Linked DNA regions of Homo sapiens: regions 2, 3, 4 and 5 are each linked to region 1. The links are contacts of gene promoters, found by promoter capture Hi-C in blood cells and fetal thymus (Javierre and others, 2016). All regions are on one chromosome and are shown on one strand. The core of a region is centred on a gene start or on the middle of the fragment in contact, and the rest is flanking DNA. Distances in the headings are between cores, read along the strand shown. Region 1 holds the start of TESPA1 (thymocyte expressed, positive selection associated 1). Region 2 overlaps BLOC1S1 (biogenesis of lysosomal organelles complex 1 subunit 1). Region 3 holds the start of CBX5 (chromobox 5). Region 4 has its middle 6.6 kb from the start of TMT1B. Region 5 has its middle 7.4 kb from the start of OR10P1.

Region 1 (2,912 bases), core at 204-2,703:
AAATTGCTTTCTATCCCTTCTGCTATATCTTCAGCTTGTTATTTCTGATAATAGTCCAAGTAGAGACAGACAATAAACCTGACTTCCCTTCTTCCTACTAACACTTCATGCTGCAAGACAATATTGTGAGATCTTTATCTCTAATCACTCAGCTGAACAACTATTGAGTCTGATACTTGGACACACAAGTTGAAGGTTCCTACCTCCAACCTCCCATCCTAGGTACTGCCCTGCACCATCTAGAAAGTCTCCTTACCTCTCTACTCAGGACCATTTGTGGTATACAGAGTCACTAGTACTTCCCTGGATATCTCCTGTAAATGCTCACAGTCTTGTCAAATCACTTCTGTGGAACTCTCCTTTCTTGTCCTTGCCCTGCCCTGGGGACCCACCCTTTTTCTTCCACCCACTGGTGAGCTTAGTGGCACAGAAGGGGCATGGGAAAACCCCAGGGTGGAGGATCTTTCCACTCCTCCATCTACCCCAAAACTCATGTAGGTGGTGATATGCTCTGCCTGCTACCACTGGGGCAAGGGGTGTTGGAGGAGCATGAAGCCCCCAATATTATGTAGGTCACTGAGAAGGCAACACATCCATCTATCTATCTTTGAGATGTGAACCCTGAAATCTGGTCCTGATGGTGGCTATCCATCTATCTTGAGCCTCCCGGTGAATTTGACCTTACCTCACTCAAGTGTGTACATCCTCCCTCGTAGCTGACCTCAATATATCTTGCTGCAGTTTATCTCAACAAGTTTCTTCTACAGCTTCTGAAGAAAGAGGTCATACCCACAGAAAGCAAAGTTGATTTCAGCCAGGTACTCTCAATGGTTGGAGCTATGGACACTAGAGTAGGGCCTGAAATGAAACCGGGAAACTTCTTCCTTGAGAACTTTTCGATGTTATAATCAGATGGAAATTGCAGCAACAATGAGTTCAGCAAGACACAGAGAAGAACTTTGCAGGTGAGAAAGGTGAAAAAAAATTCCTAAAATGTTATTCAAGTCATCAAAGAGACCCAAGTTTTGAGAATCTAGAAAGATTACCTCTCTGATAATAAAGAGAAAACAAACAAACGAAAGCAAAAGGGCACCCAGCATCGTTCTCCTAGGCATAATGATGGATGCTTTTAAGGTTGAAGTAAGAGTGGTGGGAGATTTTCTCTTGATTTTCCCTTGACTTGACAGCCTGATTTTTCTCTGACATGTTTCCTTCTTTCTCCTAGCATCACCCTAAATCAGTACAGCCTTGAAACTGAGATAAAGGCTGTGCTTACCTGTCTGCTGGTAGAAAGCTGAGTTTGAGGCAAAGCAGTTGTCGAAGCTGGGCCGAGGCCTTCACAGGTGTGGGCACAGAGGTGAAGCAAGTGAGAAAGTATCATGTTGTAGATTATGCCTTTCTCCCTGAACTCATTCAACTGCTGTTGCCTGCTCAAAAGGGGAAGCGGAAATGAGAACACACCACACACACACACATCCACACATGTAGATGCAGTCCCCGCCTCCTGGCCCAGCCACATCCTTTGCTCCGGCTCAGGAGACTGAGCGAAGGACAAACCATCCGTAGACACGGTGCTCACAACTAGGAAGACCTTCCTGCCCCAGAGCTGCCTCTGTCTTTCCAGAAAAACAGGAGATCTTTTCCTATTAAGGCAAAGGTACAGTCCATTTAAAGAGGTGTGTGCAGGAGTCTTCCTACCATATAACTAGAATTCCACTGCTGCAGATAAATCCTTCTGTCCTCAGGAGAGCTGTCTGAAAATGGGAAAGCTCTCTCTCATAAATGATCTGGCGTTTATCTCAGAGAAGAAGTTTCCAGTCGTATCACACACTTGAGAGGGCTCTGAGCCAGTCGCTCTGTGTTGATAACTTTCATACTCTGGTAAATTCCCCCGAAGCTTGTTTTTGAATACTGACTACTTTTTTTTTCTGTTAGTTTCTTAACTTTGTTTTATGTTCAAACCACTTCAAAGTTTTTGTTTTTGTAGTAAATGACTGCTTTCCCCAACGTTTTCAAAGCTGAACTTTTAAAATCGGTTACACCCTGAAGATGTCTTCAGTTTATTGGTTTTCAGTTTGGAAAAGGCTTGTTGAACTCTAAAAGGTTTCTCCCAGGCCTCAATCACTTTCACCCACCGGGAGCATCCAGCACTGCTAACTATCCCTCCTCGCTTCTCCAGTATCTCTGAACACTCTTCTCCGTAGGATGCTGCTGCATTTTGGATATCTTCTTTCTGTCTCTCTCCTGATTCTACTGTTTCCTTCTTTAAATCATTTATTTATGAATGTATATCACAATATTTATTCTACAAGGCACTCCTCTAATGTGTTAATTGTGACTGATTTTCACATGTTCATTACCTTCTTTCTGATTTTTTGGCTATAGGTATAGTTAGATTTTTTTTTTACCATGTTTCTAAATTCCATTTCCAATCATCAATGGGACAACTCCATTGAGTATCCATAGTATAGCTATAATATGGTAGAAATAATCCTAAATAAAATTCTTGCTTGGCAAATTAAGTTCTCAAAACATTATTTTCTTCAAGTATAATGTGAGGAAAATAACAATTCTCTCTGTTTCTCACTCAACCCTTCTCCCACGCTATTCCTTTTACGTAGGCATGAAAATATCTAACATATTTTCTCAGGACATAGTAGATGCTAAATATGTGCTTCTCTGAGAATTAGCTTCACAGTCAACAAGTAAAATGCTAAATCCAACACGCCCTAATTCTCTTTATTTACTATTCTTTTCCGTACAAATTAACTATAAAAGCTGAACTAATGGAAACTTAACAACTCTTTTAAATCCTAAGTTTCTAGAATTCAATGTTTTCCTTAACAGTTGTTTTCCAATATGTTTGGGAAATGGAGAATATAACTTCGGTAGGGAGTTTGGAAATATGTGAG
Region 2 (2,912 bases), core at 298-2,797, 730 kb after region 1:
ATTCCTTTTCCCCCTCTCCCCAGAAAAGAGGAGGCGAGAGGCTATCACTGCAGCGACCTGCCTGACAGAAGCTTTGGTGGATCACCTCAATGTGGGGTATGGACCTCTTATCAACATCAGTTTCCTCCTTCCCCACCCCGCCCAAGTTTAGGCACTGGCCAGTCTGGCCCTCAAATAGCTGTTGAAGGGGTGGGATGTTCCACTAATTCCCCTATCCTACCCCGCCCCTCCCAGCTCTTTGTAGAGCAACTTGAGTCAACTCTGAGTCCTAGCACTGGGCAAGGGAGGAACAGCTGCCGTGGTTAGAGAAGCAGCCAGATTTCCCCTTCCCCACGTTAACTTCCCTGGCATTTACAACTTGATGCCATCTGCCCACCTCCCTTCACCCTTCCAAGTCCAGCTGTCACTTCAGCAGGAGGGAGAGCACCCTCCTTCATTACAGCTTACCACCCTCTCCTCTGCCTCCCACCCTCTGGCAAGCCTGGGGAGCAGCTGGCAGGAAAGAGATGGCAGAGCTGGTGGTGGTGAGAGTAGAACCTGTTCCGGGAGCTATGGCAGAGCCAGGCTGTCTCTTACCTTCCTATTGGGTCTCTAGGGACCACACCCTGCCCCAGCCCTAAATGAGAATGCAAGTAACAGCCAAAGACTTGGGAAAAAGCAAAGAACATTGTCTCTTGACCCTAAGTGACCCAGAAGCGTGCAGAGATGATGATTTGCTAGTCTGCCTATTGGAAGAAAGGCAGTATGGTACCTTCCACCCCAGGTCAAGTAGAACAGCTCGGTGTGAATCCAGAGACTGAGTCATCCAAGTGAGCCATGCAGGGGCTGGGGTCATCTTTGTTACTCATCTTGGGGGAAGGTTGAGAGAAAGAAAGTTGTGGCTGGGGCCTCTGATCTCCCTTCTCTCCAGGCAGCTCTCTTTACTCAGTGTGAATATAGAAGCAGGTGGTCAATGGGGAAAACCAGAAGTTCAGGAATTCTCAGGGGAGTCTGTTTCAGTTCCTACCCGACCCTTGACAGTGACCCAGCTGTCTCCCAAAAAGAAGGAACAGGGTCTGCCCTCCCATTTCCTCCCTCCCACATTGGCACCTCCTGGGCTCTGCTGTGCCCATCATTTGTGAGATTGGCCCAGGCCTTTCCCTCTTCTTTTCCTTTGCTAGATGCCACCCCACTTTCAGCTTAGAGGGCAGCTAAGCCAAAGCCAGATTAGAAAGGGTTTTGTGTTGCTGCCCACGCCTCCTCTCATTCCCCGGAAAGGAAAACAAAGGCTCAGTCTATCTTGGCCCCTGTCAGGTGTCCTGCCCACTCCCTCAGCCCCCACCAACCCCTTCCCCGCTCCAGCCCCCACACATTCCAGTGGGTGGGGGCACCGGATGTGGAATCTCCTGGCTGAGTAGAGCTCTGGGGTGGGAAGTGAAAAATTCAACAGCCAATAAAGGAGAACAATTATTGCAGGGGTTGGGGAGGGCAAAAAACACTGGCAGAAGGTTGGGGACACCAACCCCATGGTAGTAATGGTAACCACAGCCCATACCTTGATTGAAAAGAAAAACTAGTGCCTAAGGCAGAAGGGAGGGAGAGCATGTGTGTGTGTGTGTGTGTGTGTGTTTGTGTGTGTTCCTTGATCTGTGTGGGCAAAAGCGAAGGCTTGGGAGAGCAACTGAGAGCCGAGAAGAAACCCCTGGGATACCCTCTTTTGACCCAGGGTTCCTGGGGAGGGGGTTTGTACTCCCATCCTAACCCGGCTTCAGGGAGGGGCCCAATTTCCCTCTCCAACTTCTTGCATAGATCCCTAGGCTTCCAATCACTGCCAGATGTGTTCCTCCTGCTGGATTTTCCCAGTTTTTCCATGCCCCTTTTTCCCTCCCAGCTTTTTCCTCAGGGATATCACCCCAGGTTTTCCCTCCCTTCCCCCACTCAGCTGCAGGAACTCCTTTTTGGGGTTTGGAGCTGGTATGTTTCTAGTCAGCTCCGAGCTTGGCTCTCCTGGGAATCCTGGGAGTGAAAGGAAGGAGCTGGGTTTATTTGCATGTACTGGTAGTCATTTGCATCACATCCAAAAATGGCCAAAATTATGAGCCCTGATTCTTGGCTGAACTCCCACTGCTGCAATGGAATATTAGTCCCGGAGACCACCCCCAACTAGCTGGAGCTGATCTCCTCCCTCCTCCAACCCCCCAGTGTGGCCCAGGCCTACATGAACCAGAGAAAGCTGGACCATGAGGTGAAGACCCTACAGGTCCAGGCTGCCCAATTTGCCAAGCAGACAGGCCAGTGGATCGGAATGGTGGAGAACTTCAACCAGGCACTCAAGGTGGGCCATACTCCCTACCTCACCACCCCAATCCTGGGCCCCCATTGGCTGCCTCCAGTCAGGTTACCTCAGGTTTAGGTTAAGGAGGAAGTAGGGTGGTCCCAGAAACCCCATCTATAGCCCCAGTGTCAGAAAAGGTAGAGAAAGAAAGAAAAGCAGTTGGTGGGTCCAAGTAAAGCCTTTTCCAGGAGATGAATAAAACGTATTCCCCAGACTGGAAGCCATACTCTACCCATTCTGATTCCTGGGCTCCCACCTCCTCTCCCCCTTCCCAGGAAATTGGGGATGTGGAGAACTGGGCTCGGAGCATCGAGCTGGACATGCGCACCATTGCCACTGCACTGGAATATGTCTACAAAGGGCAGCTGCAGTCTGCCCCTTCCTAGCCCCTGTTCCCTCCCCCAACCCTATCCCTCCTACCTCACCCGCAGGGGGAAGGAGGGAGGCTGACAAGCCTTGAATAAAACACAAGCCTCCGTTTCTCTGTGGTGTGTTTCAGAGAGCTACTAGCTCCAGTGTCGGGGGTGGGAGTGGAAGGTTCAAAGGTGGTTTCCCTGAGGGACAGGTACCTTTTGGGGAGAGGGTGGAACTAGCTTCC
Region 3 (2,912 bases), core at 111-2,610, 700 kb before region 1:
TCTTCTGTCCCCAGAACCCTAAATATTACCCTCTTTGTTTCTTTTTTATTCCAAAGTCAGATATCCTCAAAGGAACAGCAAAAAGAGGGACTTTAGGATATCTTCAATGGTGTAAAGAAAAGAAATATATGAAAGTTCCCGGGAGAAAGAGACTAAAATAAAAGCACTGGGCACATGGATTACATAAAACAGAAAAGGGGTTGTAAGTATGTGATTATGACTAGAAACACAAAACAATCGACTTCATTTTTTATTTAATTTTAATCACAAATTATTAACCTTGCAAAGTTTTAAACATTAAAGATCTAATCTGCCTCGATCCTACTGTGTCCCTAGGATTGACACTTTGGTGTGTAGCTTTCCAAAACTTTTCTGTGGACCTACAAACATATTTGTCAGTAGAAATATGCACTATCAGGAAGGAGATATTTCTTGAACGCCTTTCCATGACAGTACATAGAGATTTCTCCCATTCGTTCTAACATTTTAACAGTCTTCCTAAAGAAGCGACTTCTGAAAGTATTATTTAAAAACAAACAAACAAAAAAAAACAACTCCTGTTCCCCAAACCTCAAGTGGTGAGGGGGCGGGGGAAAAATGCTCAAGTCGAGGAATACAGGAGCAAACTTACGCTTTCAAGGAGGTGTATGGGACTGAGGCCTAAAGGCTTCGTTAGAGAAGTCATCGTGGATAAAACATCCACCCTCACACGCCATTACAGGCACCGACTCCCCTTCCTCACAACCCCAAATCGAAGACCTCCCTCTTTTGGAGAGCCGATTGGACGACTGGTCCCAGCGCTTTCCTTAGGCTGTCCGTCTACTGGTTCCAGATTCGTTCCATCCGTTTAACCGCCCGATCCCGCATTCCCCATTGGAGTCAAACCGCTGCCTCCTGGAGAAGCCCAACCTACCGCGCGCTTCCTGCTCACTGGCTCAGTGAGACGCTGCTCAGAAGGGGAAAACCCGTCTCCCACATTCCGATGGCCCAAGGGCCGATCAGTCGGCAGCTCAAGGCAGACCCAATTGGCCTATACACAAGCCAGTCAAAGTCTTCGGCTGCACAGCTCCAAAGAACCTACGGGGATTAAAACATCCCGCCCCCTGTTCTTCTATTGGTTGGCCCGACCCACCGCTGCCCCTTCACTATCCCCCCACCCCGCCGTCCATTCATTTCACACAATAACGGGCCCAAATGGAGTCAGTTCAAGACCTACTATGGGTAGATAAGACTGTCTGCCACTTACCCGGGATTGAGAGTGATCACTCACGCTAACGTCTGCCCTGTTCCTGTATGGTGAGGCCGCACCACAAGCCACCACCGCCGCCGCCTTCTGCGCAACGCCAACCGCCCGCCAAAACGGATCCTTCCCTGCGCCTGCGCAACCAATCCTGGGACCGGACCTTTTTTCTCCGCCCACTACGCATGCGCAAAGCTAGGACAAACTCCCGCCAACACGCAGGCGCCGTAGGTTCACTGCCTACTCCTGCCCGCCATTTCACGTGTTCTCAGAGGCAGGTGGAACTTCTTAATGCGCCTGCGCAAAACTCGCCATTTTACTACACGTGCGGTCAACAAGAGTTCATTGCAAAAAAATTGTTACCTCCTGGCTGCTTGTCTAATACATAGTGTTAATCATGCTTTGCCAAGCGACTTGACTGTAATATTTGCGCGTGGAAGATTAAAAAGATGTTAAACACCCAAGGTAGATTCAAATGTGAATGATTGGTCGGTTGGCCAATCAGACTGGTTAACAATAACATTACTCGGGAACCAATGGACTCCAAGGGGTGGAGACGGCGTAGAACGACCGAAGGAATGACGTTACACAGCAATGTGGCACCACAGGCCAATAGCAGGGGGAAGCGATTTCAAGTATCCAATCAGAGCTGTTCCAGGGCGGAGTCTACCAATGCCGAAAGCGAGGAGGCGGGGTAAAAAAGAGAGGGCGAAGGTAGGCTGGCAGATACGTTCGTCAGCTTGCTCCTTTCTGCCCGTGGACGCCGCCGAAGAAGCATCGTTAAAGTCTCTCTTCACCCTGCCGTCATGTCTAAGTCAGAGGTGAGTTAGGCGCGCTTTCCCACTTGAATTTTTTCCTCTCCCTTTCCTGAATCGGTAAGATGCTGCTGGGTTTCGTTCCTTGCACCAGCCCATTCTACAGTTCCTTCGGTCGCTGCCACGGCCTACCCCTCCCAAAGTTCAAGTCGCCATTTTGTCCTCTTGATCGCCATGAGGCCGCTCTCCGCCAACCATGAGTTATCATGCGGGACTCGTTACTCGTAGCAAAATTCTTAGGCACACAGGATCTTTGTCTTTTTTTAAACCTTGCCTTGGTGAGCGAGTTTTCTAAAGAGCGATTAGTCCCATTGTGGAGATGCACCCCTACCGCCCAAGCCTTTGTTGCGCGTGCGTCGGAAGGCGACTAGGGACGCATGCGCTTGCGATTTCCTAGCACTCCCAACTCCAGCATACGGCCTCCCTTGATAGGCAGAAGCACGTGTCTTGTTGCGACCTGAACGAACAATAAGTGCTAGGTACACAGTTGGTGTCTAGTTTTTCTTTTCCTCGATGGAAATTGTTTCGTGTTGTAGCCCATTTAACACTTCCCCCTCCCCCCACTCTAGTCTCCTAAAGAGCCCGAACAGCTGAGGAAGCTCTTCATTGGAGGGTTGAGCTTTGAAACAACTGATGAGAGCCTGAGGAGCCATTTTGAGCAATGGGGAACGCTCACGGACTGTGTGGTAAGATTTGGAAGGGACAAAGCAGTAAAACAGCCGATTTCCTTGGCTTATCTTGGTGCAGTCTTCTCCGAATGCTTATGAAAGTAGTTAATAGCATTATAGTTAGAGCTTTGTTGGCAAAGGAACGTCCTGCTTTGATTTTAAAAGCTACCTCTTAAATCTAGGGTAGTG
Region 4 (2,912 bases), core at 308-2,807, 690 kb after region 1:
ACAGTATCACAAACTGGCCTAAGGGCTGTTGACCAAAATGAATAAGGGAAGGGATGCTTGATACAAGAACCAAACAATGAGTTAAAAAATTAACTAGGCAGGAGGGAGGAGGGACTGCTGAAAAGAAAGCAAGCATATCAGGAAGAGGAAGACAAGCTCAACAGCACTGAAGCTAAAAGGAGTGAGAGTATGAGGAACTGAAAGAAGATTGTATAGCTAAAACACAGGGTTAAGGGAGGGTAGCATGAGAGGTGGACAGGGGCCAGATCACACAGGGCCTTATGGGCTACAGTAAGGAGTTCAGATTTTGTACCAAAGATAATGGGAATCCACTAAAAGGTTTTAAGCAGTGGGTGAAAGTGGAGAGACAGTTAATGAGGCCCTTGCAGTGGGCCAGGCAGCGGAGGGTCATGATCTGGTCTAGGGTTATGCCAGTGGAGATGAAAGAAATGCATGAAATTAATGAACTGGGAAATAGAGCTGACAGGACTTGTGAGTAACTTGAAAGTTATATATATATTGGCCGGGCGCGGTGGCTCACACCTGTAATCCCAGCACTTTTGGAGGCCAAGGCAGGCAGATCACGAGGTCAAGAGATCGAGACCATCCTGGTCAACATGGTGAAACCCTGTCTCTACTAAAAATACAAAAATTAGCTGGGTGTGGTGGTGCGTGCCTGTAGTCCCAGCTACTCAGGAGGCTGAGGCAGGAGAATTGCTTGAACCCAGGAGGCGGAGGTTGCAGTGAGCCGAGATCGCCCCACTGCACTCCAGCCTAGCAAAAGAGCGGGACTCTGCCTCAAAAAAAAAGAAAAGAAAAGAAAGTCATATATATGTTATAGAGAGATACAGATGGAGATGAAATGACATGATGTTTGGGATTTGCTTCAAAATGACACACAGGAGAAGGAAGCAGAAAGTAGAAAAGGATGTGGATGGGGAAGGATTGGCTGTGGGTTGATAGTTGTTGGGATGAATGATGTATACATGGGGGTATCTTATACTGTTCTGCCAACTTTTGTGTATATTCAAAATTCTCCATTATACAAAGTTAGAAATGAGAAAAGAAAAGGAGGAGACAGAGAAGAAATAGAATAAATCCTAGGTTTTTGGTTGAGCAATCAAGAAGCTAATGGTGCCATTCACTGAGATGATGAAGAAGATGGGCAGAGTAAGACAAGAGACTTGGGGAGTACCGTAAGTGTCATTTTGGACATGTTAAGTTTTATATGTCCAGAAGATATGCTGAGGAGGAGGATCAAGTACACAACTGGGTATACAAATTTGAAACTCAAAGGAAGGATCTGCACTAAAGATATAAATGTGTGAATAATTTGCATATACATGGCATTTTAAACCATGAAAATGGATGGGATTTGGTGAAAATTATGTGTCAATGTAGGTTCATCAATTGTAATAAATGTCCACTCTGGTGGGGGATACTGATAATGAGGAAGGCTAGTCATGTGTGAGGACAAAGGGTATGTGGAAAATCTCTGTACTTTCCTCAACTTTTCTATGAAGCTAAAACTGCTCTAAAAAATAAAGTCTATATTAAAAAAAAAAAGATGAGGTTATTTAATGAGAGAATTTAGACAGAGAAAGACCCAAGACTAAACCCAAAGAAACAAAATTTAAAGGTCGAGTAGATGAGAAAGATCTAAAAAAAGAAGTTTCTAAGAAGTAACAGCCACGGGAATGTTATAGAAACAAGAAGACTGTTATGTTAGGACAGCCTAGATGAGAGAATTTTTCAAGAAGAAATAGTAGCCAACTATTTCTGAAGCTGTTGAAAAGTCAGATAAGATGAGAACAGGGAATATTCACTGGACCTGGCATGTGGAAATAATTAATAGGCTTGATAATAATAGTTTCGGGTTTCTTTGTTTTGTTTTGTTTTGTTTTTAGAGACAGGGTCTCTCTCTGTCTCCCAGGCTGGAGTACACTGACCCAGTCATGGTTCACTGTAACCCTGAACTTGCAGGCTCAAGCAATCCCCTTGCCTCTGCCTCCTAAGTAGCTGGGGCTACAGGCGCATGCCACCACACCCGGCTAATTGGCTAATTTTTTTATTTTTTGTAGAGAAAAACAACAGCCTATGTTGCCCAAGCTGGTCTCAAACTCCTGGGCTCAAGCAGTCATTTCCTCTCGGCCTCCCAAAGTACTTGGATTACAGGCACGAGCCACCACGCCCGCCCAAAGTCATAATTCTTGAGTCATCTGCTCGTGTTATCTTGGTTTCCTCACCTTCCATTCACTCTTTCTCCCACTCCAATCCATCACTAATAAAAATTTCTTGGGCTTGGCACAGTAGCTCACGCCTGTAATCCCAGCACTTTGGGAGACCAAGACAGGAGGATGGCTTGAGGCCAGGAGTTCAAGATCAGCCTGGGCAACCCTGAGAGATACCCTGTCTCTACAAAAATTTTTAAAAGTTAGTAGGCATGGTGGTATGCACCTATAGTCCTAGCTACTCAAGAGGCTGAAGCAGGAAGGGCAGCACAACCCCAGGAGTTTGAGGCTGCAGTGAGTCAGAATGGTGCACTCCAGCCTAGGCAACAGAGCAAGATCCTGCCAAAAAAAAAAGACTTTGACATAGATTTGTAAAATGGAGTTTTAGCTAAAGTGACATGTGGTGTCAAGAGGGTCAGTTTATTATTAACCTGAAATATATTAGAGCATATTCATATTTTGAAAGATCCATGGAAAGGCAGAGATTAATGATTTAGGAGAAAGAAAGATAAAATGAAGACAAGAATTCATAGCAGCATTGTTTATAGTACCCCAAAAGTGGAAACAACCCAAATGTCTATCAACTGTTGAATAAATAAACAAAATGTGGCATATCTGTACAATGCAATGCTACTTGGACGTAAAAGGAATGAAGTATTGATACATGCTACAACATGTGTA
Region 5 (2,912 bases), core at 170-2,669, 660 kb after region 1:
ATGAGATCAGTGACACACGGTGTGGGGGGCGGGGACAGGAGAGCCTCCTCTGCTGGAAGCCACTTCCTCTCATCTGGACTGGGTATGCAAATCTTGAGAAAGAAAATGCAATTTTTCCCGTCTCATAAGCAGAGAAGATTCCAGAAGCCACTTGCTGTTGCCTGGCAGGGCACAAGGTCACCCTTCTTATCCTGCCTCAGGGTTACATCGGCTTTCTCGCTCTGCGCCACCAAATCCACAGGCACCTTCATCAGGTCACCACCCCGTAGAGCACCACACTGGTCCATTCTATTGATGAAACTACACTGACAGCATCTGGAGAGAGGAAAATGGCAGGTACCCTTGATGTACATTTATAACTAGGAGATAAATTTAGGGGCCTGGCCTCTCTGTGAAGGTTTTCTGGGGATATCAGGGTATCTCCTCAAATGTTACGGACAAGTTGCCTCACCTTTTGCTCCCTACAGTAAGAAAAGACCTCTTGTAGTTATCTGGATTTGGGAAGCGACATATAGTCCTTTTGGGTTGGCTGCTTCAACCCACTTATCGGATGTCCTAAAAGCCAGAGGAAGCAAATGCTCTCCCAGTGGCCCACGCTGCAGTTCCGCCACTGGGCCTCCCAACTGCCCAGCAGACTGTAAGAGGCTCAGTGTCAGTGGCACTGGAGCCTGCGGTAAATCCAAGAGGTGAATCACAGATTTGGGAGCCAAACCTTGCCCTTTGGGGCAAACAATCAAGATCCTTTTGTGAAACTGCTCTTGGGCTGCTTGTAGGCAACAGTATACACTGAACAGCTGACCACTGGACACCAGGTGACTATGGAACAGTATTGCACACCATGAATTGGGTGTAATTTGACCCACTCACCCTAAAGTTAAGTATCCCCAATAGCACTTAATAGACAAGTGAAATTGGTAAAATCAGATGGGGCCCAAGCACAGCCTGAAAACAAAAGGAGGTTGCATATACCTCATTCTCCAGCAAATCAATCTTTTTGGGGGGTATGGGGATGTGGGAGCAGGAGCTTGCTCTGTCGCCCAGGCTGGAGTGCAGTGGTAAAATCAAGGCTCATTGCAGCTTCGAACTCCTAGGCTCAAGTGATCCTCCCGCCTCAGCCACCCAAATAGCTAGGACCACAGGCACATGCCATGACCTCCAACTAATTTTTTATTTTTACTTTTGTAAAGATGAGGGCTCGCTATGTTACTCAGGCTGGTCTTGCACTCCTAGCCTCAAGTGATCCTCCCACCTTGGCCTTCCAAAATTGCTAGGATTACAGGTGTGGACCACTGAGCTTGGCCCCAGTTCATTCTTAATAGGCCTACAAATAGAAGGGTCATAATGGCAGGAAAGGAGGCCATCCATGAACTTAACAGGGTCTTCCCCCCAAGCTCTAAGTGGATAGAGCTTGTGGGGGACAAAGCTCTATCCACTTCTACAGAAGCCATTAGGCCCAAATTTGTGGATTCTCTAAACTCTGACAGCCGAGACACAGCCCTGTGATCTTAGCTAGTCCTAGCAGATGCAACTGCCTAAGACTTTGAATCAGGTGCAAGTGATTCAAAGAAGTAAAGTTTACAATTCATTTTGGTGATGACCACAGTGGCATCCAGGCCCACCAGCAGCAGCCTCAGCACCTGCACGGTGCCAGAGGAGTCACGGGCAACAGTGCCAGCAGTGCCTGCAGCATCCTAGCCAACCACCCCTGTGCTATGACCTGGCCTGTGGTTCTGGCCTCTCAGCTTCTTTTGGTACCTGATCATTGCCTAAGCCTGGTTTTCCAAGATTCCTCTCAACTCCTTGAGCTACCAGAGTCAGGTTTTCTCTAACCCAGAATTGTTCACCTGCTTCTTTCCTCCTCTTTCATGGCCCCTATGGCCCATCTGATCCTTTCTGAGTTATCCCCCTCATAGCTCACACCAGGATTTCCTCTTTTCCAAAAACTCTCTTCCCCAAATCCCACACACACTTCTCCCCTTCCTCTCTTCAGCATTAACACATTTTAAACTTTCCAGCAACTTTAGGGGGATTTTTTTAACAAAGTCTCAAACTTTTAAGACATCTAAAAACTGCTCTGAAAGTCATCATCAAAGTTCATAAGAAGGCAAATGATAGTAGTAGCAATTATAGTATAATCGAAATAGATTAGTGAACACTATTACCTACATGCACTGTGCTAAGCAGCTTTCATATATTCATTTACTTATCGATTCAGCAAATATTTCCTGAATACCTACTATGTGCCAGGCACTAGGGATACACTGGTAAACAAGACAGGCAGTTTCTTCCCTTCCCCCTTTATGGTACATCTCATTTTAATGAAAGGAGAGAAGCCACAAACAAACAAGTTAATTTATATGTCAAGTGATGATGTGGTATAGAATGGCTGAGGAAGGCTGTGTTTAATCCTCACAGCAACCCTGTGATACATAGAAACGATTATTGTCATGACTTTACAGATGCAGAATTTAAGGCACAAAGATGTAAAGAAAACTCCCACTATTTCAGATGGTAAGTGATGATCAGGATTTGATCTTGGACTTGCCAACCACCAGAGGCAAGCTCCAAACCACCCTGTCATAGTGCTATCTACAACCCAGCCTTCTGGTCAGCCTTCCTTAGCCAGCTCCTTATCCTCTACTCCTAGACTTTCCACTAAAAGAAAGAAATCTATTCTCTTCTTTGATGTCCCCTACTCCCAAGGACAGACATGGGCTTTTTGCTCCCTGGTATTCATAGTGTACTTCCAGTCCAAATATGTCCCACCCAGTCCTTGGTAAACTGAGGAAAAGTGAGTTTGTGTCTTCATTGGATCCTTTCTGCATCATAAGAATATTAAGTATCTATACCTTCCCCATTCTTCTCTTCCTTGCCACACTGTCTTCCACAATGGTTGAACTAATTTACACTCC

The links. Contacts are between HindIII fragments. The CHiCAGO score rates a contact against its expected background, and 5 or more counts as called.
Region 2: a contact is called between a fragment that was not itself captured here and the fragment with the promoter of TESPA1 in region 1, in 1 of 17 cell types (erythroblasts). The highest score is 5.0, in erythroblasts.
Region 3: the fragment with the promoter of CBX5 here is called in contact with the fragment with the promoter of TESPA1 in region 1 in 1 of 17 cell types (fetal thymus); the score reaches 5.7 in fetal thymus.
Region 4: a fragment that was not itself captured here is called in contact with the fragment with the promoter of TESPA1 in region 1 in 1 of 17 cell types (total B cells); the score reaches 5.6 in total B cells.
Region 5: a fragment that was not itself captured here is called in contact with the fragment with the promoter of TESPA1 in region 1 in 2 of 17 cell types (total B cells and naive B cells); the score reaches 6.6 in total B cells.

The regions. Positions count from the first base shown.
Region 1 is chr12:54,983,309-54,986,220 of GRCh38, forward strand. It overlaps TESPA1 (thymocyte expressed, positive selection associated 1), which reads right to left and starts at 1,454. Exons shown (of 11, transcript NM_001136030.3): 1 at 1,277-1,454. LOC107984515 (a long non-coding RNA gene) reads left to right here and starts at 1,543. Exons shown (of 2, transcript XR_001749161.2): 1 at 1,543-1,657. The HindIII fragment of the contact is 6,023 bases long and covers 1-1,895 here.
Region 2 is chr12:55,716,910-55,719,821 of GRCh38, forward strand. It overlaps BLOC1S1 (biogenesis of lysosomal organelles complex 1 subunit 1), which reads left to right. Exons shown (of 4, transcript NM_001487.4): 2 at 24-96; 3 at 2,182-2,314; 4 at 2,590-2,794. The coding sequence ends at 2,700. BLOC1S1-RDH5 (BLOC1S1-RDH5 readthrough) reads left to right here. Exons shown (of 6, transcript NR_037658.1): 2 at 24-96; 3 at 2,182-2,314. Among named protein-coding and RNA genes, the nearest start is that of RDH5, 2.0 kb to the right of the region's middle. RefSeq lists enhancers at 772-931, 1,032-1,081, 1,192-1,351. The HindIII fragment of the contact is 2,957 bases long and covers 70-2,912 here.
Region 3 is chr12:54,278,762-54,281,673 of GRCh38, forward strand. CBX5 (chromobox 5) reads right to left here and starts at 1,361. Exons shown (of 5, transcript NM_012117.3): 1 at 1,247-1,361. HNRNPA1 (heterogeneous nuclear ribonucleoprotein A1) reads left to right here and starts at 1,965. Exons shown (of 11, transcript NM_031157.4): 1 at 1,965-2,061; 2 at 2,625-2,741. The coding sequence starts at 2,047. It overlaps SCAT2 (S-phase cancer associated transcript 2), which reads left to right. Exons shown (of 2, transcript NR_157844.1): 2 at 1-302. RefSeq lists enhancers at 724-813, 966-1,725, 1,244-1,293, 1,584-1,673, 1,684-1,743 and 1 more and a cis regulatory region at 760-2,912. The HindIII fragment of the contact is 6,592 bases long and covers 1-2,912 here.
Region 4 is chr12:55,673,662-55,676,573 of GRCh38, forward strand. No RefSeq gene overlaps it. Among named protein-coding and RNA genes, the nearest start is that of TMT1B, 6.6 kb to the right of the region's middle. RefSeq lists an enhancer at 1-96. The HindIII fragment of the contact is 3,457 bases long and covers 1-2,912 here.
Region 5 is chr12:55,642,804-55,645,715 of GRCh38, forward strand. No RefSeq gene overlaps it. Among named protein-coding and RNA genes, the nearest start is that of OR10P1, 7.4 kb to the left of the region's middle. The HindIII fragment of the contact is 3,323 bases long and covers 1-2,912 here.